Regions from separate parts of the Homo sapiens genome. Here regions 1, 3, 4, 5 and 6 are each linked to region 2. Evidence: promoter capture Hi-C in 16 types of primary human blood cells and fetal thymus (Javierre and others, 2016). All regions are on one chromosome and are shown on one strand. Each heading gives the region's core, a stretch centred on a gene start or on the middle of the fragment in contact. The rest is flanking DNA. Distances are from core to core; before and after follow the strand shown. Region 1 overlaps ATP11B (ATPase phospholipid transporting 11B (putative)). Region 2 holds the start of TTC14 (tetratricopeptide repeat domain 14). Region 3 overlaps MCCC1 (methylcrotonyl-CoA carboxylase subunit 1). Region 4 overlaps ATP11B-DT (ATP11B divergent transcript). Region 5 holds the start of DCUN1D1 (defective in cullin neddylation 1 domain containing 1). Region 6 has its middle 40 kb from the start of LINC02031.

Region 1 (4,329 bases), core at 523-3,022, 2.2 Mb after region 2:
ATGACTATTATTGTTTATTTATTTATTTATTTTGAAGTTAAATACCCAGAAGTGGAATTGCTGGGTCATGGGTCACGTACATTATGACTGTTACTAAATATTGCCAAAGTATTTTCTAAAACAGAGTTCTCCTTTCCCTACATCTTGCTCAACACTTTGTACTGTCAGACTTGAAAAAACGTACCAGTCTGATGGGTGTGAAATAGTGTCTCATTTTGTTCTAATTTGCATTTTCTTGATTGCTGGTGAGATGCAGGTATCCTCAATTTCATTCACATGAATAGATTGCCCGTTTTCCATTGGGTAGTTTGGCCTTTCCTAATTCTTGCTATAGCCTGGATGCCAATTCTTTGTTGTATATGTTGTAAATATCTTCTAGTCTGTTCCGTGTATTTAATTTAGTTTATGGTATCTTTTTTTATACAGAAAGTTTAAATTTATTTGTAGGTAAATTTATTAGACATATGATTTCTGCTTTTTATTACATATTTGACAATTCCTTTGTTATACTAGGATCATAAAGCTGTTTTTCCAGCGTTTTCTTCAAATTGTTTTAAAATTAGTTTTTTAACATTTAGATCTTTAAAGATACCTGGAATCAATTTTTGTATATGGAATAAGGAAGGGAATTTGTTTTCTCCCGTATAGAAAGTTGTGTCAATGCTGTTTATTGAATGAGGCATCCTTCCTCCACGAGTCTGTGTTGTTTGCCTTCTCTGTCATAAGTGACACATTTAGGACACGTACCAGCATTCTCTTTCACATACTCTGTCATATACCAGCATTCTCTTTCATATACCTTGGTCTCATTCTAGATTCTGTATTCCATTTCATTCATTTCTTGGTGCACAAATAATGCTCTGTCTTAATTATAGTATTTTAATGATAAGTCTTGGTATTTGGCAGGCAGAACCCCCACCTTCTTTTTTTTTCTTTTTACAATTATACTGAACTTTATTCTTCCATATGCCACTTACAGTGTTTGTCTAGCTCCATGGAAAATAGTTCTAGATTTTGATTAGCTTTGCATTGAAGTTAAGTTTCTTCATATTTTTTCCCTTTGATGATTATAAGCTATGGATTGTATTTTCATTTTTATTTATTTTTCTAGTTATGCCTATAGTCATTGAGCATCTCTATACATAATCTACAAATAACATAGGAATTTAGATTTCTTTTTTTTTTCTTTTTTTTTCTTTTGAGACAGAGTCTCCCTCTGACCCCCAGGCTGAAGTGCAGTGGCGTGATCTTGGCTCACTGCAAGCTCTGCCTCCAGGGTTCAGGCCATTCTCCTACCTCAGCCTCCCGAGTAGCTGGGACTACAGGCACCCGCCACGACGCCCGGCTAATTTTTTGTGTTTTTAGCAGAGACGGGGTTTCACCATGGTCTTGATCTCCTGGCCTCGTGATCCGCTCGCCTTGGCCTCCCAAAGTGCTGGGATTACAGGTGTGAGCGACCGCACCTGGCAGGAATTTAGATTTCTTAACTCCAGTGTTCTTTCTCATCTTCTGCGTTACAGTTGCATAGTAGTCTGTTTTTTCTCTTTGACCAGCTTTATTGAGATACAACTCACATAACATACAATTTACCCTTATAAAGTATATGATTCAGTTTTTTTCTAGTGTATTCACAGGTTAGTGTAACCATCACCACACTCTAATTTTAGGATATTTTTTCTTCCCAAAAGAAACTCGATACTCATTAACTGTCATTCCCCATTTTCCCAAACCTCAAGCCCCCAGCCTAAATCAACCACTTTCTGTTTCTAGATTTGCCTACTCTGAACATTTTATATAAATGTCATCGTACCATATATGTGGTATTTTGTAACAGTGTTCTTTCACCTAGCATAATGTTTTCAAGGTTCTTCTATGTTGTAGCATGTATCACTACTTCATTTCTTTTTATTGCCAAATAATACTCAATTTTATGGATATACCACATTTTTTAATTCATCCATCAATTGATGGACATTTGGGTTGTTTCTGCCTTCTGGGTATTAGAAATAACACGGCTTTGACCATTCATCTGTAAGTTGTTATGTAGATGTGTATTTTCATTTGGGCTTATACCTAAAGAGTAGACTTTTATTGGGTCATATAGTAACTCTGTTTTTAACTTTGTGAGGAATTGCCAAAGTGTTTTCCAAACTATCTGGACCATTTTACATTCCCACTAGCAATGTATGAGGGTTCCAATGTCTTCATATCCTTGCCAACACTTACTTTTGTCTGTCTTTTTGATTATAGTCATCCTAGTGGGTATGAATAGTATCTTACTGCGATTTTGGTTTGTGCTTCCCTAATGACTAATGATATCCAATTTTTTTTATGTACCTGTTGGCCATTTGTGTATCATTTTTGGAGAAATGCCTATTCAGATATTTTTGCTTTTTTTTTTTTCTTTTGAGACGGAGTTTCACTCTTGTTGCCCAGGCTGGAATGCAATGGCACGATCTCAGATCATGGCAACCTCCGCCTCCCAGATTGAAGTGATTCTCCTGCCTCAGCCTCCCAAGTAGCTGGTATTATAGGCGCGTGCTACCAGGCCCAGCTAATTTCTTTTTTTTTTTTTTTAGTAATGATGGGGTTTCTCCATGTTGGTCAGACTGGTCTCGAACTCCTAACCTCAGGTGATCTGTCTGCCTTGGCTTCCCAAAGTGCTGGGATTACAGGCGTGAGCCACCGCACTGGGCCGCTTGTTTTTAATTGGGTTATTTCTTGTGTTTTAAAAAAAATTCTTGAGTTGTAAGACTTCTTTATATATTCTAGATATAAGACCTTTATGAGATGTGATTTGCAAATATTTTCTCCCATAATGTGGGTTGTAGTCCTACTTCTTTTTAAACTCAATGTTTTTTAGCATTAGTTTTTAATTAATATGGTAATTTTTATTTAGCACAAGGATTTAGTGATATCTTTTACTCATTATTGTTTCTTGCATACCACCTCTTTCTTCTGGATTTAATTTTATTCTTGCTGAATAACTTCTTTAGTTGTTTTTAAGCAAGAGTTCATGAGTGGTAATGTTTTTATTTCATAGTCACTATTGAATGGGAATTTAGCTAGATACAGAATTCTAGATTAATGGTTACTTTAGCTCTACGTATTGGAGATACTACTTATTCCATTACTTTCTGACATTTATTATTGCTGTTATGAAATATGCTTTTAATCTAATTGTCATTACTTTGTTGGTAATATCTTTCACATTATTTTTAAGATTATCTTTGTCCTTGATATTTTGTAATTTTACTGTGATGTATCCATCATGTTTTTTCATATTGTTTTTCCTGCTCTGCATTTGCGTGTGCTTTCAATCTGAAGACTATACAATTCAGAAAAATTTTTAGCCATTTTTTCTTTAAAATATTATTTCTCAGCCTTTAGTTTTCTCATTCTAGAACTCTTGCTTGACATATGTTGAAGCCTCTTAATTTGTTCTCTATGGCTCTTTTCTTATTCTCATCTCATTTTCTATCTGTGCTGTTTTCAGCAGAAATTTTTTATTTCTAGCTTCTAGTCCACCAATTCTCTTGTTTTCACTGTAGTTTATCCTGTCTTCTGAATTTTTACTTAAATGACAATTTCTCATTTTCAGCATTTATTTATTATTGGACCTTGTTCATTTCTGTCTGCTCTTTCTGCATATGTGCCTGATTTGTTTCATAATTTTTCATTAAAAATATTATTCCATTATTCCTTTGGAGATCTTAAACATACTTATTTTAAAGGTACCCAGCTTTTTCCAGGCTTCTTTCAAAGGTGGGAGCAAGCCTGGACCCAAGCACAATACTACTAATTGAACCTGACTCTAGAACCATGGTGCAGAGGGGGTACTGCTGATTCTTATCCGGCTATTCTTATCCTATAGGAGTTGAACTTCAAACTGCTTATTTCCACACTGAGAGTCCCAGAGGCTCAGCTCCTGATTACAGAAATGATTATCTTATGTTAAGCTTGGCTAAGTATTAATTTAAAAAAAAAAAAGACTATCTGTCTTTGCTTTTGTGAAGTAAAGGGAACAGTTCAAAATGTAGACCTTCCCAAAGCCAATAGCCAATTAGTGTCACAGCCAGGACTTGAACCTAGAGAGTTTTTCCAGGGAGTTTAGTAGTGTGGAATAGAATTAGCCATAGTAGGGAGAATGAAATAACAGTAGCTTCCACCGTTATCTCTTAAATCTGCCTGAAAGTGTGATAAGACTACAGAATGCATTAGGGGAAGGAAAGTCTAGCAGTGGTATTCTGGAGATGGTGGTGACAAGTTTGTAGAGGAAAAAGAAAAAAAAATGATCAAGAGTTTCTAGTCCAGCCATGGCCATTCTCA
Region 2 (3,983 bases), core at 240-2,739:
CAAGAGATTCTCGTGCCTCAGCCTCCCGAGTAGCTGGGACTACAGGCATGAGCCACCACGCTCGGCTAATTTTTGTATTTTTAGTAGAGACGGGGTTAGGCCATGGTGGCCAAGCTGGTCTCTGAACTCCTGACCTCAAGTGATCCACCCTCGGCCTCCCAAAGTACTGGGATTACAGGTGTGAGCCACCGTGCCTAACCCAAATTTATCTTTTACAGTTGCATTCTTGTTTGTTGCATTTTCTCAAGTCTCAAACTGTTTACCTATTTGCCTGGGTTTTCCACAAAACAGTGTGGCAGTATCGATTATGTTCTGGGCTAGATCTCCTATACAAAAGTGGTAACACAGTGAAAGGCAAGTTGATTTCCTCAAAGACACATGGTGGGAAGTGGAGAGACTAACTGTCACCGTTTATTTCTGTTCAAGAGGACTATACTGAACTATTTACACTGAACATATTTAAATGGTACAAATTTTATACTGGAATAAAACGAAGCTACATGATCTCAAAATTAGGGTTAGTTAGACCTTCCATATGATAAAATACTCAATCCAGCAACTCTGCCTGAGAAGACCAATTAATACTTCGTTTGGAATCCTAACTCTAGCCTCTTACTAGCTGTGTGCCATTGAGCAATTTACTGGGACTCTCTGAGCATGTTTCCTCGTTTTCTAAAATGAAAAAGTACAATAGCTACCATAGTGGTTAGGTTCTCAAGTCAGTAAGTAAGGGGATGGGGGACCTAAGTTGAAATTCCCTTTGAAAATCACTTGAATTGTCCATAAGAACAGTATATTGACTTTTGCGTACATACCACTATACAGTAAGTCCCACAGACACTAAATTTTGAGCAACCATTGAGATAAACTAAATAAGAAATGCATGTGTTCATTAGTTATTGTAAAACTTGAATGGCATATGCACGTGTGGAGACATTAAAGCCATCCTGGTTTTAGAATTCACAATCACTAACAGTAAATGGGGTATGGATGGAGAACACCACTCCAGGTGCTTAACAAATGTCCGTGTCCTTCCTTTCTTCTGCCCTTAAAACCACCTGGAAACCTTCCCGGAGCAGCCGGTTGAATGGGGTTACGCCAGAGACACAGGTATTGATTTACGCAGAGAGTACGTCGAGGGAAGAAGCTTGGAGACTCGTATAGGGTTCTTACCCTGGCACTGGCACTTAGAAGCACCTTGATGAATACGAAAAGGAATTATTATTTACCCTAGGTTACAGCTCGAGCTATTTCGACGTAATAACGATCCCACGTACACTTTAAAAAGCAAACTTCTCACATACATCACTTCCTGGAAGCCCTAGTCAGCCTTTAGCCCAAGCAATGCTGAGCCCAATCCTTCGGCCTTCCGTAGTCTCGCTCGGTTTCGCGAGATCGAGGCTGAGCTCCGCCGCGCCGCCGTGGGGGCGACCCCAGAACACTTCCGGGTGTAACTGGTTGTGCTGTCTGTGTACTTCCGGCAGCCTCCAGACAGTTTCTTCCGCTTCCTGTACCACCCGGCTCAAGTAGCGGACACGGAACAGGGAACTATCAGCCCGTCGGCCTCCGGGCCCTGCATTCTCTAGCCATGGACCGGGACCTTTTGCGGCAGTCGCTAAATTGCCACGGGTCGTCTTTGCTCTCTCTACTTCGGAGCGAACAGCAGGACAATCCACACTTCCGTAGCCTCCTGGGGTCGGCCGCCGAGCCAGCCCGGGGCCCGCCGCCCCAGCACCCGTTGCAGGGCAGGTAATGAGACGTTGGTGCCACTGCGCCACGGAAGAGGGGACGCAGCTCTGGCAGCCACTACCGCAGCCCCGGGTTTGCGTCTAGAGGAAGTGGAGCCGCGGCCGTGAGCACAGGACGATCGCGCGCTGGTGTCTTGGGCTGGGTGGACGGGGGGCGCTCCTGGGTTGTGCAATGCGGGATGCGGGCTGAACTTTTTCTCTGGCACTGCTTGGTAGAGGCGCAGATTCCTTAGCTAAAAATCCCTTGAGCTTTCCTATCTGAGTTGGAGGCGTCACTTTTTAAGTTTCCCCGCTCTCCACCTCCAGGTTGGTTAATGAGGGAATGCCTAGTTAAAACTTTTTGTCTGAGGTTGTATTGTCTGCAGCTTAGGATGGAGCGGAATGGGCGATGAAAGCCATAAGCAGAAGGTTAGAAGTAAAGAGGCTTTGCAGATAACCCAATTTTCATATATATTTTTTTCTTTTTAAGAAAAGAGAAGAGAGTTGACAACATCGAGATACAGAAATTCATCTCCAAAAAAGCGGATCTGCTTTTTGCACTTTCCTGGAAATCAGATGCACCTGCAACTTCTGAAATTAATGAAGACAGTGAAGGTCAGTTTAGCCTTAAAATCTTTAAGATTGCGGTTCGGTTTAACAGTACTTCAGGTGAAACGGAACTCAAAACTATCGTTAGTGATTTTGTTAATTTTTTTTTTTTAGATCATTATGCAATCATGCCACCTTTAGAGCAATTCATGGAGATACCTAGTATGGATCGGAGAGAGCTGTTTTTCCGAGATATTGAGCGTGGTGATATAGTGATTGGAAGAATTAGTTCTATTCGGGAATTCGGTTTTTTCATGGTGTTGATCTGTTTAGGAAGTGGTATCATGAGAGATATAGCCCACTTAGAAATCACAGTAAGTTATTTTTGTTACTTGGATTGCTTCTGTTTTTGTTAACGCATCTCAATGCAAGAACTATATCTTTGCATGCAGTTGTGCTCAAGTATACCTGCCAAGATGCTTTTGGAAATTAAATGTTAATTGGAGAAAAATAGTTTAAAAAAATTAGTGTAAGTTACCCAGTTTCTCCCTCCATTTCTGGTTTTTGGGATTTTTTAAATTTAAACTGGTTGGCAGGCACAGTGTTCTTTTCTAAATGCTCAAAGAGGTATCAGTGGACGTGGTGAGGTTGATTGATATTCAGACTTATTTCTTGTAGTTGAACATATGTATTCTTAATTAGTTAATATTTGGCATTGTATATTTTCATGTGGATAATTTGGAGAGAAGTTTCATTTATATATTTACAATAATTAAATGTAAGTGGTTTGTACATTATATTAAGATACTTTGCCCAAGATGGATAGTCCTGAATTTAAACTAATGTGTCACGATAAAAGATTGGGTATTTGCCATCTATCCAGGCAGATAAAAAGGAAGAAAAGCAGAAGGTATTACAGATTGGATAACAGACAAAATACTTTGGAGAATTGGCATTTCATTTTCACTGGAATCCTTATACCTTTTAGACAAATTTTAGTTTGTTTTTGATGCATGTTGTATACTGTCATAAGCCATCATATTTGGTTCCTAAACTAATGGAAAGTTTCATGAGATTTTAGTTTTTTAACTGAACCAGCAAACATATTTTACTGTGTTTGGACACGGAAATTACTTTTAACTAAATCCTTATTTAAATTTTTACTTTAGGTTGTTCAACTACTAGCTGTTTCATACCAAACAACTAAGATAAAAGAAGACACTGTTCTTATCAAAGCTTGAAATGTCTGGTGTTTTAAAATACTTCTCATTACAGGCTCTTTGTCCCTTAAGAGATGTGCCTTCTCACAGTAACCATGGGGATCCTTTATCATATTACCAAACTGGTGACATCATTCGAGGTGATTAGTTTCATCATACTAATAAAAAAGTAATGATTGTTGAATTTTTGTTTTTATTAATTTAAAAAAATACAGTCTAAGAGGGTAGTGTTTGGGAAAGTTTATATTTTTTATGTTAGTTTACATTTTCTTACTAATCAGCTTAGTTCTCTTTTTTTTTTTCTTAAGCTGGAATCAAGGATATTGACAGATACCATGAAAAGCTAGCAGTATCTCTGTATAGCTCTTCTCTTCCACCACACCTATCTGGTATTAAATTAGGTGTAATTAGCTCTGAAGAGCTTCCTTTATACTACAGGTAATTTATCCGTATTATTTCAACAACAGTTCATTACAAAAGTCTCTTG
Region 3 (3,989 bases), core at 819-3,318, 2.5 Mb after region 2:
CTTTTGGTTCTTTCAGTTGTATCCTATTTTATTAAAATATGCTGGTCAATCTACAGTTTGAAAAATACCAATCAAGTTTAAACATGAGACATGTTTAAAAAGTAAGACCAGAGAAATAAACGGAAGTTAAACAGGGGCAACAGAAAGAATGTTGGCTGTGGGACCAGAAAAGCTGCATTCTCATCCGAGTCCCTCCAATGACCAGCTTGCCCAGGGTCGAGTCACTTTACATCAGTGTTTCTCCAACTTTTTTTTCATTATTACTCTCCTAATGAGAAAACTTTTAAAAGATTTTATTCCTTGTAGGAAGGGTGGGGTAAGGTTGAGCTTTGGAAAGCCGTAAACCATGACAAAATCTAAGATTTCCTGGCTCTCCTAAGAATCAATTTCCACCCTTTAGCGGTGGTATCATCCCAGTTGAGGATGCAAGATTTAATAGCTTGGGCTTCAGTGTTCTCACACACGAGATGAGACTATAAGAGGTGATCTTGAAGGTACCTCTCAGATTTAAAAGTACTATACAATTCTATTCCAAGTCCTTGTATTTAAAAAAATGGAGAAATGGGGAGACAAAATGACTTGAGGTATTTTAATGAGGTAGAAGTCTCAACAATTTTTAAGTTTCGTGATACCTGTGTATAAAATAAAGTAACCAAGAGCTGACAGAAAACAGGCCAGATTCACTTTAGGAACAAAAAAGTATAACGTCTATTAAGTTTCAGCTAAAGAGGATAAGTGGGCTGGGTGCAGTGGCTCACGCCTGTAATCCTAGCAATTTGAGAGGCTGAGGTGGGGGGATTACCTGAGGTCAGGAGTTCGAGACCAGCCTGGCCAACATGGTGAAACCCCATCTCTACTAACAATACAAAAATTAGCCAGGTGTGGTGGTGCGCACCTGTAATCTCAGCTACTTGGGAGGCTGAGGCAGGAGTATCACTTGAACTTGGGAGGTGGAGGTTGCAGTGAGCCAAGATCGTGCCACTACATTCCAGCCTGGGTGACAGAGTGAGACTCCATCTCAAAAAAAAAAATAAATAAATAAATAAAAAGCATATGCAGGGAAACAAACAAATTACAGAAGCAATTCCACCTATCTTTTTGTCTATACCTGGAAGATGTGGTTATAAAGGACTAACTAACCATTTTAGATTATTCACAAAGCACAAGATAAAAGCACAGCGTGTGCATTAGAAACTATGTAACTAGGCAGTAGTATATACATATTATGTATATGACTATGTAGTTGAGCAGGACTAGTATTTCACTGGAGCGGAGATGCAGTAGACATCTACACATCTATATGCGTCTATACACTCATTGCCCTACAATGCACACTCAGATGCTGCCATCCATGAGGAGCTGCTGGGAAGACCCACAGCTTTGGCAGGAGAGTTCCGTGAGCTAGCTTCCTCACGAGGCTGCTGCTTTCCCACACCTTTCCATTTCAGCTGATGTTACCTTCTTGATCCTGAAGGAGGGGGATCATCTTTCCTGATCTTTATGAGGTATTTTCTAGCTCATAGCATCGTCTTCCCTTTACATTCTTCAGATAGGCTTCTGATAAGTTTCAAGGCCTATTCTGGGCAGATGTATCTATTAAATGGTTGCTTGTTGGTAAAGCTAGCTTAAGACTGATTCGGTTTCAAGGCTACTGTTGACCTAAAGCTTTCTTTTGCAATCTTCTAGTGAAGACAGAAGAAGGGAGAGAGGGAAAAAGAGGGAGAAAGAGACAGAGATCCCACTTAACTGTAATCCACTATCCCAACAATGTTCTGATCATCTATTCCATTTTTCACAATTATCTAAGCTGCAACTTAAAAGCAATGGCTTAAACAAGATTAAGAAGCTGCTTCCCCGGAGCTTGCAGTGAGCCGAGATTGCGCCACTGCAGTCCGCAGTCCGGCCTGGGCGACAGAGCGAGACTCCGTCTCAAAAAAAAAAAAAGAAGCTGCTTCCCTGATTCAAGGTAGCTCTATACCAGCTTATTGTCATGTCTATAATTCTGCCACCAGAGATTATTTTCTGTGAGCTACTAAAGATTCATAACATAAAAATAATGTAAACTATCTGTGCTGTTAAGATTTTTTTGTTTTTGTTTTATTTGAGATGGGATGTCACCCAGGATGGAGTACAGTGGTGTGATCATGGCTCACTACGGCCTGGAACCCCTGGACTCAGGCCGTCCTCGCCCTCCTCATCCTCCCAAGTAGCTGTGACTACAAGTGTGTGCCACTACGCCTGGCTAATTTTTTAATGTTTTGTAGAGATGAAGCCTCACTGTGTTGCCCAGGCTGGTCTTGAACTCTTGAACTCAAGCAATCCTCCCACCTTGGATCCCACAGTGCTGAGAAACTGCTGAAAATACAGGCATGAACCAAGTCTCCTGGCAAAGAGTTTTACTTCTATAAGCCATTAACAACTCTAACACTCTCCAGAGTGACATACTTGAGGATAGTTCTTTAGACAATAGCTAAGCTTTGAAAGGGAAGACAGGAAATGGGTCTATGGTACTATCCTGAAGAGCCCTGGAGGCCTAAGAAAAGAAAAACCAGAAGAACAAGAAGAACATTAACATTACTTACACCAACTTTTTTTTTTATTTTTTTATTTTTTATTTGAGACGGAGTCTTACTCTGTCGCCCAGGCTGGAGTGCAGTGGCGTGATCTTAGCTCACTGCAAGCTCCGCCTCCTGGGTTCACACCATTCTCCTGCCTCAGCCTCCCGAGTAGCTGGGACTAACAGGCGGGACTATAGGCGCGTGTCACCACGCCCGGCTAAATTTTTTGTATTTTTTAGTACAGACGGGGTTTCACCGTGTTATCCAGGTTGGTCTCGATCTCCTGACCTCGTGATCTGCCCGCCTCGGCGTCCCAAAGTGCTGCGATTACAGGCGTGAGCTACCGCGCCCCGCCAACTTCCAACAACTTTCTTATGTTTCTCTGGGGCACTCCTACAATTAAGTAACTAAAAAGGGCATCTACAATATTTCTGGAAAATAAAAGCAAGCAAACGTTCATATAAATGGTTGAGTTTGCATTTATAGACTGATCTTATGTACCAGATTGTGCTTAAACCTCATTCCATGAATTAATTCATTTAGTTTTCACAACCCAAGGTACTCGTATCATCTCCAAGGTGAGGAAATTAAAGAAGAAATATTAAGTAACTTACCCAAAGTCACACACCTAGTGAGTAGCTAACTAAGACCTCAGCCTTGACTGCAGAGTCTGTGCCCTTGAACACTAAACTGTCAATCTTTCCAGAATGATGAAGGATGATAACGATGAAGCAAAAGAAGACAAAGAAGCAAAGCTATCTACAAGCCTGAGGGTTTTTTCACTGCCAGAGTTATTGCCACCAAAGCTTAGAGCTCAAAATTTGAAACAGAGCTGGAGTCAGGTGAGCTAGACTGAGTCATCTGATAGCGTTGTTCAAACTTGGGTACAAGAGTTTTTGACAAAATAATTTCCCAGCTCTGTGGAAGGTACATTTGCTCTTCTTGACAACTTCACTCTTCTAACAATGAGAAGGAACTCCAGGAGTCTTTCTCTGAACTGGACACCTGATGGGGCACAGCTGAACTGAAAAATGGCTTTGAGGGCATCCCGGCCCCATTTCTTACTAGCTGTGTTTCGTTGAGGAAGTCGTTGATCCCTTTGGGCTTCCCCGGAACCGGATTATAACAACGCTCCCACCTAAGGGGTGCTGCGAAAGCCCGATGTAAACGGCTACGAGCTGCAGCGACGGCGAGGGGAGCCTGGAGGATGGCGGGCCCAGTCCTCAGAAATGGAAAAACAGAAGCCAAAGGCGCGCTGAAGCGTGGATGTGCGGAAGCGGGGAGAAAGGGAAGGGCTGGTGGGGATGTCTTCCTCCCGACGCCGTGACTGCCGGCAGAACCCCTCCGAAAGTGCCTGGGGTTTTCCTACCGTCCTCCCCACACCGACCCTGGGTTCCGCCGCACCTCCCACCGCTCACGCGGGTCCGTGCA
Region 4 (3,897 bases), core at 317-2,816, 2.2 Mb after region 2:
TTTTCTTAAATATTAAGGACAAGATTATATAAATGACTTGGACATGATGTACATTAAATTGGAAGTTAGCTTTTTATCAGGAATGGAGAGAAAGACATGGTAGATGAGACACAGAAGTAGAGAAGCAAAACATAATAACAAAGATTTTCAGCCTTTGGTCTTTGGATTTTAGACATTAAATTATATAAAAGTAAGCACAGTTTAAAAGTATATTAAAATGTTACTTTTATAACTTACCATTCTTGATGTGTTTAACGATTAGCCTAAATACCAAGGCTGTTTATGTGGGGACATAGGCATAAAATGAATAAGGTAATTTTTACTTATAGGGAGATTGTTGCAAAATAACACAACATGGGCTAAATTAGTGAGTATAGGATGAGAGCAAAATAATGCAAAGCAATACCCATTATCAATCCAGTACTTGCATGCTCATTATTATGTCTTGGAACCAGTTAAGAAAACAGTATTTTCACAGCTTTAAGATAAGAATGAAAAGCATTAAATCCATCGCACAAGTAGCCGGACACAGAGTACAGAGTTCCAAAGCTATTCACATTGGGCCTGGGAAGTGCCCATCAATGGTGAGCTGGTATTCTCCGTTTTTTAGCATACTATACTAGTTAAGAGCAAAGATTTTAACCTGAGAGAGACCTAGGTTTGTGTTCTGGTTCTGACAGTTCGTAGATGGGTGATCTTAGGCAAGTTGCTTAACTTTTGTGTACTTATGTGATTTTTGTCACCTGCAAAATGGGAACTATAATACCTACGTTCCTGTTAATAGTCAAAATATTTAATGCCTGGTACATCTTGGGCACCAACCAATCAGAAGGGACTCTGGTATTGCCTCGATGTTGGGAGCACCTGCTGTGCCCAGTGTTAACCCTTTAGTTTCAGAATTTGAGGACAAGGTTGAGGGGTCCGCAGGAGAAGAGTTGAGCCACTGGAGATATAGGGTGTGGTATGGAGGATACTTGGGGAACTCAGGGCACTGAGTTCTTCACTGACCACTATGGAAGTATTTCAGTACTTTACCAACCATTTTAACCATATGGCTGATGTAACTATAAATAAAATATAGTTGTTGTGAGAATTAAATGATACATGTAAAGCACTTAGTTCATACCACCAAGCTTAACAAATGGTAGCTATATAATAGTTAATAGTGTCATAATAGGAATAAAATAATGCCCTCATTGGGATTAGAGAGGATTAAATAAGATAATGTGTTACGTATTTAGTTCAGGGCTTGGCTCCTAGTGAGTCCTCAACAAATAGTAGGCATTATTATTATTGATTCTATTGTTGTTGTTTAATGCCTGGTATGTGGATTAAATTGTATACAGTGGATTACAAGGCCAATCAGGGCCAAGAAAATGTGGACATATAGCTACTAAATAATTGCTAAACTCATGCTGTGAGATTAAATAAGATCATGGAAAATCATATAAAAAAACAGTGTATAGTTTTAAGAAAAACAAAGAGTAATTCCTACAAAACAATAATCTGGGAATACATCTTGTTTGCCATATAGTGAAAAAGAAAATTAAATTAATAAGCATAACTGGATCTAACAAATTATTGGCTACAAATCCAGAAAAGGCACAATATAAAGGAACTGACAATAAAATAAAGTCAATTTTAGCATTCTTGAAGCAACTTGAATCTTGATTGTTACTGATAATTTAAAATTTAATGATACATTTTCACATCTCTGGGACTTTAGAGATAAAAGACTTTTTTTTTTTTTTTGAGACAGGGTCTTGCTCTAACACCCAGATTAGAGTGCAGTGGTGCAGTCTTGGCTCACTGAAGCCTCAACCTCCCAGGCTCAAACGATCCTGCCACTTCCACCTCCTGAGTAGCTGGGACTACAGGTATGCACCACCACGCCCAGGTAATTTTTAAAAAATAGATAAATAATATTTTTGACTAAATTAACAAGCAGGTAATAATTTTTCCTTATTAAAATATATCAGCTCAAATCTTGAGTCTTCAGAAAGCTTTGTTAAACTATAAAATTTAATCCTTCCTCAGAAGGGTATACAATCCAAAATGAAGTGACTGTTTTAAAATCATCTGCTTACTCTTTTTTTAAAGTAAACATTCAAAACAGGATAATTTAATAGATTTGGGGTTTGTGGGTTTTGAGCCTCTATTGTTTCTTGGCCCTCAAATCAATTATTACCAAACTGCTAATTTTACCACGATCTTAAAGTCTCCAGTGAACATTTAGTGGTCTAGTGGTTTGGAAAATGTGGTTGAGATGAAGTGAAACTCTATTGAATTTACCTTCAACTGAAATTAATATTTTCTTCTTAGGAGCTTTATTTCAGGCATGATAGTAAAGGTCAACAGATGATTTTTTTAAATTCATAAGGTAATAATCCTCACCATCATTATGAGGGAAGTATGTCTGAGGGAATCAACCACCGAAAGCAGCACAGAGCCAGAAGTGAGGGTCTCACTTTTTTATTCAAAGATATTTTTCCACATTTGAATGGTAAACTCAAAGCTAATTTGCATTACTGATTAATCAATATTGTACCACAAGTTCTTTTATAGCCTCAAAAGGATTTTTTCCACTCAAGTAAGCCTGAGAGAACAAAGGTTGCTATTCATATAAACTCTGTTTGAACAGATTTTTTTAAAAACATTGTGCTTACAGTAATGAGATTGCACACCAGTATTAAACATACAGTGTGCATATATAATTTTCTGGCTTCTGTTGATCCATCAGCTCAGTCTATCTGAATGATGAAATAAAGACAATTGCTTGCAGAGGAGGGAAACTGAAACCAATTGGGGATAAAGATAATAAAGATAGGTAAGAGCAAGATATTGAAGATCTACTGTCATCCACAGAGATAATATTCTGTTGGAGAGAGAACTATAAAGAAGTAACAGACTTTGAGACTCCCCTCACTGTATATTCACAAAAGATGTCTTTCATTCCACAAGCATTTTCTTTGAATACCATATAGAGGCCTCATTTATTAATAACTAAATTTGTTATGAACCAAACTTCTGTGTTAGTTACAAGAATGTACACTGTTTAATAGTGTGATTAGAGTCACATTTAAACTGCAGTTTTTTTTCATTTTTTTATTTTTCATTTTTTGTAGAGACGGGGTCTTGCTATGTTGCCCAGGCTGGTCCCAAACTCCTGGTCTCAAGCCATCCTCCCACCTCAGCCTTCCAGTGTGCTGGGATTACAGGTATAAGCCACACTATGCCTAGCCAAAACTGCAGCTTTCAATAAGTAGCCAAATCTAACAAGTATACTTTCATTCTCAGTCTAACATTTAATCAACAGAAAATTGAGTCAGGTGAGGAAAAAGGAGTTAAAGAACAGGCTGTACTGTATATGCTTACCTCTGATATAGAGGACAGTCTCAATCATTATTATTAAATGAAATATTCATATACAAATTAATACCACTGCATCTGAGTTATGTTAAAATAGATGCTCAATAACAGCAAATGCCTCACTTTGAAGAATGCACGTACTTCCTGTCATTTTCCCAGGTTGGATTCAGTGGTCCATCTCCCTGGGCTCTAACCCAAGGGTCAGGGAGATGCTAGGAACTGGGATAGTGGGAAAGGGCAGAGGGGGCAAGAGGAGGAAGGAAATCCAGGAAGATGAGACTTTTGGATGTCAACTGGAGACAAATTCAAACATCTTTGGGGATTAGAATCGGAGCGCTCATTTTAGGGAAGCTGGTGGGGACAATACCAATGCTACAAACCAAGTATTTTATCAGAGTTTTAACAGCAACTTGATTAAAGACAACAGATGGAGCTAAAAATAAAAATGGTGGATGCAACCTAAAAACTGGCATCTCTCTCAACAGACTATTGAATTCATTCACACAGGAGAAAAGTTGAATTCTCTTG
Region 5 (4,081 bases), core at 663-3,162, 2.4 Mb after region 2:
GGAAACTCTCCTTCTCCAAAAGCATGGGACGCCTCGAGAGGTGATGGAGAAAGGAAAAGGGCTGATACCCCGCCCCAAGCAAAACTGCCTGGGAGACTTGCGGGGTATTGGAGCCGGGAGCGGAGGAGGGAGAGGCGCGCCGGGAAAGTCTTTCCTTCTCCCCGGCCGGGCGGAGAGGGAAGCCCCGGCTTCGGGGCGGGGGGAGGCTACTCACCCGGAACCCCAGACCCCAGTCCCCGACCAGACACAATGGAGCCGGCAGAGGGGCAGGGGCAAGGCCGTTGCCCCCTCCCCTCCCCCCGCCCCAACGCCTCCCCCACCCGCGCCGGGCCCCGGCAAGGGGCACCGGGGCCGCTCCCCGCGCCCCAAACTCCCCGGGGCTCCCGACTAGGCCCGGCTCCGCTCCGCCTCCTCGGCTCTCGCGTAGCGGCTGCGCCCGGGCGGGAAGGGGCGAAGGAGGAAGGGAGAGGCAGGCAGGAGAGCCCCCGCCTGGGAGCGGGACGGAGGCCGCGGGCCGAGGCTCGGGGCTGCAGGGTCGCCGCGGGACGGAGGGCGGCCGGGGCGGGGGTGCGCGGCAGCGCCGGCCCCCAGCCGGCAGGGCGGGCGGGCGGCCGCAGTGCCTCACCATGTTGGTGTCCTCCAGGCCTCTCCCCTCCTCCTCCGGCTCCGCAGCGAATGGACGGCGGCGGCGGCGGCGGCTCCTCTCACGGGCTTGCCCGGCTCCCGCTCATGCGCAGTGCGGGGCGGCCCGGCGCGGCCCGAGGAGGCAGCCCCGGACCTCGGGGAGGCGGAGGGACGGAGGCAGGCGGAGGGCGCCCCGCGCGGGGCTTCCCCCGGGCGCGGGGGTCCCCCGGGGAGTGGGCGGGGGCGGGGGGCGCGGCGGGGGAGGGGCGGGCGACGCAAGCCCTCCGCGCGCCGACATCCTCCTGCCGCGCCGGGCGGTCTCTGGTGGGGGCGCCGGGGGACACCCCACCTCCGTTTCCTACGCGGTTCCTTCCGGACGACCACGGCCGGGTCTACGCAGGCTGGAAGCGGGCACGAGCGGCGGCGGATAAGTTGAGCAGCTGGGGGCGGCTGAAACGGATGGTTGAGGAGCTTCATCCATCCCAGACCTCCCCTCCCCATCAGTATCAAAAAAAGGGAGAAGATAGTGGAAACACCTCCCCCTGCCCCGTGTTTTCTTCTTTTTCCCCCCAATCTCAGTATCAGACCTACATCAGTTCCCTCGCGTGGGCATCCCAGGGGAGACCTTAGTCCCCCCCCTGCGGTGGCTGTCACTCCATTAGTGAGGACCAGGCTCTCCCCAGACCTGTCTACTGGGAGACAGTTGGGGTAACCCTATAGTGAGATGGGGTGGGGTGCACTGAGACCCAAGGCCGGGCTGCGGGAGTCCAGGTTGCCTGCCTACTGCTAGCTCTCAGTATCCCCTCAGTTCGGCCCGCCCAGGATAAGTTTCGGGAAGCAACTACACATTTTTTCACTGAGGGTCTAGTCACGCAGGGCGGACAGTCCAGGTGTGACCTGCCCTGGGCGTTAAATCAACTGAGGCTGAGGAGCACTAGGATTCTGAGCTGAGGATCAAGTGGACAAATTCGTGCTGCAAGGAGGACAGAAGACTCCTGTGGAGTAAGTGGTCCTTGCCCTTCAGAAATGTAGTATCCAGTTGGAGAGATAAGACACCTTCACACAGGAAGGAAATAAAACAGCTAAGAAAGCAAACTCACTCAGAAAGTCACATCTGAAACTGTACCAAGAGCTTACCTACGTTTCAGAACAGGACCCACCTGAGTAGACCCGTTATCACCATCATCACCAGCACAGGCATTAAACGACCAGATCAACCCTATAACTAATGAATTTGTTCTTACCAAAACAACAGAACTTCTTTGGTAACTCCCAAAGGCCTCCTAACTTCCTGGAGCTAGCCATGTACTGGGAGCGCCCAGCGCTGTACCAAGGCAGGTTTCTGGCGGCCACAAACCGTTCATCCATTCTTTCCCCCAATATTTAAAGAATGCATGTGAATGTGCCAAGCTCCTTGCTGGGCTCTGGGTAAATAGTCCTGCAAGGAGAAGCCAGATCTGCCTCATGCAGCAAGCCTGAAACTGGACTACATCCACGGAGGTTCTCCAGGAATTCACCTAGCTTTTGACCTAAAGTATTAACACCTAGGGCGTTAATGAGGAGGATTCACTGTATCTCTTACTCCAATCTGTTCTACTCCATTGAAATAATCGTTTGTGGGTTTTCCTAAGCTCTACCAAGGTACAGGCCTTAGTTATTCTAATTGACCTCTCGCCTGCGTTTGGACACTTCCTCCTTGAATTTCCTGTTCATTTTCCATGACTCCACCTTCTCCTGCATCTCCTCTTTACTCTGACCACTCTCCTTTGCTGGCTGTACTCAATTTAGGCTTTCCTGACCATTCCTGAACGTCCTTCTGTATACAGCCTGTGTCACGCTGTCACTCACATTCCCACGTCAACTACTGCCCATATCAAGAGGAATCTCAAATCTTGACTTCCAGTCCCCAAGTGACAGGCCTAAACACTCATTCTGGTCATTTCACAGGTCCATCAAGCTCACCAAATCTAAAACTTTATCCCCAAACCCACTTTTCCTCCTGCCTTTTATCAAATCATCCAAACTAGAAATCTAAGAATCATCCACCACTCTTCCTGCCTCATCCCCTTACTCCGCATCTCACCAGTTTTCCCTCCTAAATGACTTTTAAATCTGCACCCTGCCTTCTATTTCTTAGCCAATTCTTTTTGTTGTTGTATTTTTTTGTTTGTTTTTGAGATGGAGTCTAGTTCTGTCACCCAGGCTGGAGTACAATGGCGCAATCTCAGCTCACTGCAACCTCCGCCTCCCAGGTTCAAGCGATTCTCCTGTCTCAGCCCCCACCGAGTAGCTGGGATTACAGATGTGTGCCACCATGCCCAGCTACTTTTTGCATTTTTAATAGAAACAGGGTTTCACCATGTTTGTCAGGCTGGTCTCGAACTCCTGACCTCATGATCTGCCCCACCTCGGTCTCCCAAAGTACTGGGATCACAGGCGTGAGCCACCGCGCCTGGCCAGCCAATTCTTTATCATCTCTCCTCATCAGTAACTTCTTACCTAATCTTCCAGCCTCTACTCCTTCTCCACTGCTCCATAGTTGTCTTTCTATAATGCAAATGTGAATTTGTCCGTAAAATTCTCCAAGAGCTGCATAAGCATGAGCCTCTGGAATGGCATTAAAGTTCTCTCCTCTGATCTATCCATTCCCATTGCCATTTTCCACCACCCTCCACCCAAATGCACCTCATATTTCAGTTTTCACAAACCAAGACTGCCATACCTCTGCATGTTTCCTTGCTTTCTCCAATTCTCCTATCCCTGGCCTCCTAGCTAATACTGACTGAGCCCATGACACATACTAATTTATGTAATCCTCACTGCGACACATACTAACTCATATAACCTCACTTCTACCCTATGAGCATGCCCAGCTATTACGCCCATCCTACAAAGGGGAAAATGGAAGCACAGAGAGATTAAATAATATGCCTAAAATTCCCTAGCTAGGCCAGGCGCAGTGGCTCACGCCTGTAATCCCAGCACTTGGGGATGCCAAGGCGGGCAGATAACTTAAGTTCAGGAGTTCGAGACCAGCCTGGCCAACATGGCGAAATCCCATCTCTACTAAAATTAACCGGGCATGGTTGCGCATGCCTGCAATCCCAGCTAGTCCGGAGGCTGAGGCAGGAGAATCGCTTGAACCCTGGAGGCAGAGGTTGCAGTGAGCTGAGATCGCGCCACTGCACTCCAGCCTGGGCAAGAAGAATGAGATTCCACCTCAAAGAAAAAAAAAAAGAGATTCCCTAGCTAGCAAGTAGCAGAGCTAGGATTTGAAACCTGATAGTCTGGCTATCTGGTTAGTCTATTCTCTTGATTACCACATTATATTTCCCACCAAGATCTCAGTACTCAACTCAAAGACCATCTTCTCTATGATTGTCTCCTGACCTGATCCTTGGATTCCAGCAGTTAGGCAAGTTTCTCCCCACACCTTACATATACTTTTGTTACACTT
Region 6 (4,202 bases), core at 612-3,111, 2.1 Mb after region 2:
GTGATGAGCAAAAACTGGCCCTTCTCTGTAATTATTCGCAATATAATATTAAACCCAACTTACAATAAAAGAAATTCAAAATAAAATGGTGCCAGGGAATAATCAGACAAGTGTAGAATTGCATACAAAAATATTAATTGAGCTATTATAATAAGGAAAACTTGAAACTACCTTAATGTTTATTAATTCACTGTAAGTTAAATAAATGGATATAGACACTAAATTTGTCCCTAAAAATATGTAATGTCATTGGACAATTCCCACTGCAAAATATGATGGAAAAAAGCATGTGATACTGATGTTTAGATATATGCAAATTTCATATTTTCTACAGTAAAAGTATTATTCTAATAATTAAGGAAAACGCTTTTTAAACAACCAACATGAATGCTTTTGACAGGGATGCCATCGTGTAAGTTAATTGCCAAATAAACTAAATAAACTTTTTTTTTTACTATTATTCTTCAGTTGACAAATAAAAACTGTATAATTTACATTGTATGACATAATGTTTTGAAATATACATAAATATGCTTTCTTGGATGCTCACAATTTGGGTACACTTTGGAGCATACTGGAAAATGCTCCTAACGTTGGAAGCAACACAGTCCCCTTACTTGAGCGATAAAATGTTACTTTGTTCCTTAAATTAAAGAAAGGTTCGAAGTTTAGTTTGACATTCACCTCTGCCTTTATAAAACAAACACAGCCTATAAAATAACTTAAACGCCCAGAGTGCCGAGTTTCGTCGGGCCCTGGCTGCGCCGGGCCGAGCCCTGCCCCGCGGAGGTCGCCGCCCAGCACGGTCTGCAGATGGCAGCCTCTCGCGGAAAGCCCCGCAACGCCGCTTCCTGCCTGGGGGCGGCACTTGGGGCCCGCGCCGGGGTTTCAGAAACCTGTTCGAGCCGTTCCTTTATGGCGGAACGTTCTTATTTAGTAAATATTTATTCCACTCCCCGAGGACCCAGCACTAATCACTGCCACTTCTCTTTAATAATAAATGGTGAACTTCAAATGCGGCAGAACTCAGCCGGCTAATCAGTGCTCGCCGGGAGGTGCAAAACTGTCTGAAGCCCACCGGTGGACATGAAAGACGGAACATTTCCTGTTCCAGCTCTCGGTGGCCCAGAATAAACTTCAGCCGAATGAGAGGATGTCTAGGCGGCCGCCCCCCGCGCGCCGGCCCGGGAGCCCGGGTTCCATCTGCCCGCGGCCCGGAGGTGCGCCCCTGCCCGCTTCGCCCCGGGGACCCTCGGAACCCGCGGCTCTGCCCTCCACACAATCTGGGCTGCCGCTCCCTTGGGCTTTTCGTGAAAGCTTCCTTTTAAATTCGCTGTTTGGTCGCAAGCCATTTAGCCCTTTCCGTGGGCCCGGGCGAGGGGCGGAGAGCGGAGAGCGACCCGAGCTCCTGGGAACCTGGGGGCTCCGCGCTGGGGACTCCAGGCCGCCCGCCTCGGCTCTGGCCAAGGGGTCAGCACGTGGGGTGGCGTTTGCCCCAGCATTCCAGCCCTTTGGTCTCCAAAGGCTTTTTGTATTCACTAGGGAAGGTAAGGGCCGCCCCTTTAATGGTTGCATTTTGGAATGTAACAAACTATGAGGACCACCCGGTACGCTTGCGTTGGCATCATACGAGCCCCGCGGTCCCACCGTCACCCACGGCTGATTTGGAAATGCCACGGGGCCTTTGGACATATGGAAAGACTTTTGGCCCAGACACAATAATAAAAATATTCAAAACGTCTTGAGACATAACTCATTTATCTACAATTCTGTTTACTCAAGGTGTAATTTTCATTCTATATTGCCCATTCTGGTGAAGACATGAGTGTTTGAAGCGGGCTGACTATAGTTTTATGATAAGCCATATTTTAGCTTTAAATAAGAACTGCATTGCCTCCAAAGTATTCCATCTTTTGTGTAACAGAGACCCACAGATCCTAAGTGAAATTTGTTCTCAAATTTAACACATTTCTGTAACATATTTAAACCTGAGTTAATTTAGAATGGGTTGCTGGCACCACTGGGATTGATACTGAAATGGTTTTGCCTCATTCACATCGAGCCCTGCAAATGTACTTTAAATTCTACGCTCTTAATAATCCCTAGGCATGGAGAAAAGATTGGAAGTTCTTTTTCTACAACCGCTCACTGAAAACAACACAGTGCACGGTTTCAGTGATGAGCTTGGAGTGCCCCTCTGTGGAAGAAGGTGGGCACTGCAATTTTTCTTTCCTAAATTGACTTGCCGGTGTCTTAGGAACTGTGGTTCTTTACCTCTGCCAACCATGAAATTCGATGTTACTTTTCCATTAACTTTTGTGGATTGAACCTCACTCCTTGTTTTATATAGAAACTTAAATATGTGTTGAAAATAATGAATGAATCTTCTTGTCTCTCCTGCCCCCAAAGCTTTCCAACTGATGATAAAAGATGAGAACATTTTCTTGCAAAGCCCAAAGCTGTGTTAGTACCTATTCTGACATTTAGGACTAGACAGAATGGCTTGATAAGGAGCACAGATAGATGTTATCTTATGTGCCCGCAGGGGCTGCTACAGAAAGCTACTGAGACAGAGTTTGAGCTCAGGAAGAAAAGAATGATGTGATACAGAAAGTTAGGTGCAGAAAGTAAGTTAGTTACTCTCCCTCCAAAGAGTTGAAACCTGTGTTATTGATCTATAACAGTGCTGGCCATTGGCTCATTGTCGTGAGTTTATTTCATTTACTTCCGTTTTAATCTCAAAAGTCAAAACAGTGTATTCAGGCAAGGCAAGGTGACTCACACCTGTAATCTCAGCACTTTGGGAGCCTGAGGCAGGAGGATCACCTGAGGTCAGGAGTTTGAGACCAACCTGGGCAACGTAGCCAGATGCCCATCTCTCAAAACATTTAAAAATTAACTGGTCATGGTGGCGGGTGCTTGTAGTCCTAGCTACTTGGGAGGTTGAGGAGGGAGGATCACTTGAGCCCAAGAGTTCAAGGTTGCAGTGAGCCAAGGTTGCACCACGGCACTCCAACCTGGAGTGAAACCTAAATTTGGTTTCCCTCAGAGGTGATAAATCTTCACCTGAGTCATATGTTCAAGTTATACTTTAACAAGAGATATTTTCATTAGGATGCTTTTAACTGCGACTAAAACCCAAAATCTGTCTTATACAATACATGAGTACATTGACTCATATAACTGAAAATTCAGCTCAAGCTTCAAGCAAGGGTTGATATAGAGACCCCCCACAGTGTCACCATAGTATTAATTTCCTTCCATTTTTCTGCTTTATTGTCCAGGATATTGCCAAAAGGGGGATGGATGAAGCCACCAACATCATGGCTGCTCGAAGGAGGTAACTCAATGTTCTCTAAGAAGGAACGACACATGAAAATGGCTGTCATTTGAAAAAAATATATTTTTATCAAAGAGAAAATAATCTACAGATAAGACAGTATTTAAGAAGCAAAGCTTTATTTATTTTGAGTCTGTTTAGGTCCATGGTGGAGGAACTTGTCCTCCCATTTGCCACAGTATAAACGTTTAGTATGCCAATAAAAAGAGGCTGTGGTGAATCCCAACACACACACCAGGCTTCACACAGCACACCAAACTCAGTGCACCTGAGAGAATCCATGGTCTTGACTCTTCATCGTCTAGGGAAGTAACTGAGACTCAGGGCAGAGAAGTGAACATAAATTTCATCATATGAAAACTGAAAAGGCACTTCAAAACGTAAGTGGGGATCAAAGCTCTGCACACCAAAACTTGTTTATTAGTCAAGAAACAACAACTGCAGGCCGGATGCACTGGCTCATGCCTGCAATCCCAGCACTTTGGGAGGCCAAGGTGGGTGGATCTTTTGAACCCAGGAGTTTGAGAATAGCCAGGCAACATGGTGAAAACCCATCGCTACAAAAAATTAGCCAGGCATGGTGGCGTGCACCTGTAGTCCCAGCTACTTAGGAGGCTGAGGTGAGATGATCACTTGAGCCCAGGAGGTTGAGGCTGCAATGAGCCAAGATCATGCCACTGCACTCCAGCCTGGGTGACAGTGCAAGACCCTTTCTCAAGACCCTGTGGTCCAATTACAGATAGCAAGCTTCTTTTTCTCTGATACCCACAGCTCCTACTTGGCTTCATATGATGTTTTCTAAATTGATACACACACGGCAAAGAATACATTCCATAGTGTAGGAAATATAACTGGTATATGA

The links. Contacts are between HindIII fragments. The CHiCAGO score rates a contact against its expected background, and 5 or more counts as called.
Region 1: a contact is called between a fragment that was not itself captured here and the fragment with the promoter of TTC14 in region 2, in 2 of 17 cell types (naive CD8 T cells and naive CD4 T cells). The highest score is 7.1, in naive CD8 T cells.
Region 3: a contact is called between a fragment that was not itself captured here and the fragment with the promoter of TTC14 in region 2, in 1 of 17 cell types (total CD8 T cells). The highest score is 5.3, in total CD8 T cells.
Region 4: a contact is called between a fragment that was not itself captured here and the fragment with the promoter of TTC14 in region 2, in 2 of 17 cell types (naive B cells and total CD8 T cells). The highest score is 5.7, in naive B cells.
Region 5: a contact is called between a fragment that was not itself captured here and the fragment with the promoter of TTC14 in region 2, in 2 of 17 cell types (non-activated CD4 T cells and activated CD4 T cells). The highest score is 7.2, in non-activated CD4 T cells.
Region 6: a contact is called between a fragment that was not itself captured here and the fragment with the promoter of TTC14 in region 2, in 7 of 17 cell types (non-activated CD4 T cells, naive B cells, total CD8 T cells and 4 more). The highest score is 10.0, in non-activated CD4 T cells.

The regions. Positions count from the first base shown.
Region 1 is chr3:182,803,064-182,807,392 of GRCh38, forward strand. All of the region lies in intron 1 of ATP11B (ATPase phospholipid transporting 11B (putative)), which reads left to right. Among named protein-coding and RNA genes, the nearest start is that of ATP11B, 12 kb to the left of the region's middle. The HindIII fragment of the contact is 4,370 bases long and covers 1-3,957 here.
Region 2 is chr3:180,600,674-180,604,656 of GRCh38, forward strand. TTC14 (tetratricopeptide repeat domain 14) reads left to right here and starts at 1,490. Exons shown (of 12, transcript NM_133462.4): 1 at 1,490-1,749; 2 at 2,218-2,342; 3 at 2,451-2,650; 4 at 3,552-3,636; 5 at 3,805-3,934. The coding sequence starts at 1,589. TTC14-DT (TTC14 divergent transcript) reads right to left here and starts at 1,440. Exons shown (of 3, transcript NR_183700.1): 1 at 1,230-1,440. RefSeq lists an enhancer at 1,281-1,570. The HindIII fragment of the contact is 2,365 bases long and covers 1,146-3,510 here.
Region 3 is chr3:183,095,316-183,099,304 of GRCh38, forward strand. All of the region lies in intron 1 of MCCC1 (methylcrotonyl-CoA carboxylase subunit 1), which reads right to left. Among named protein-coding and RNA genes, the nearest start is that of MCCC1, 2.2 kb to the right of the region's middle. The HindIII fragment of the contact is 810 bases long and covers 1,664-2,473 here.
Region 4 is chr3:182,780,143-182,784,039 of GRCh38, forward strand. It overlaps ATP11B-DT (ATP11B divergent transcript), which reads right to left. Exons shown (of 3, transcript NR_187316.1): 3 at 2,457-3,897. Among named protein-coding and RNA genes, the nearest start is that of ATP11B-DT, 11 kb to the right of the region's middle. The HindIII fragment of the contact is 870 bases long and covers 1,132-2,001 here.
Region 5 is chr3:182,979,862-182,983,942 of GRCh38, forward strand. It overlaps DCUN1D1 (defective in cullin neddylation 1 domain containing 1), which reads right to left and starts at 677. Exons shown (of 7, transcript NM_020640.4): 1 at 626-677. The coding sequence starts at 628. It overlaps LOC105374246 (a long non-coding RNA gene), which reads left to right and starts at 946. Exons shown (of 2, transcript XR_924771.2): 1 at 946-1,626. RefSeq lists silencers at 346-465, 526-965. The HindIII fragment of the contact is 5,858 bases long and covers 1-4,081 here.
Region 6 is chr3:182,681,564-182,685,765 of GRCh38, forward strand. No RefSeq gene overlaps it. Among named protein-coding and RNA genes, the nearest start is that of LINC02031, 40 kb to the left of the region's middle. RefSeq lists silencers at 699-768, 1,179-1,248 and enhancers at 919-968, 2,093-2,142. The HindIII fragment of the contact is 1,092 bases long and covers 1,316-2,407 here.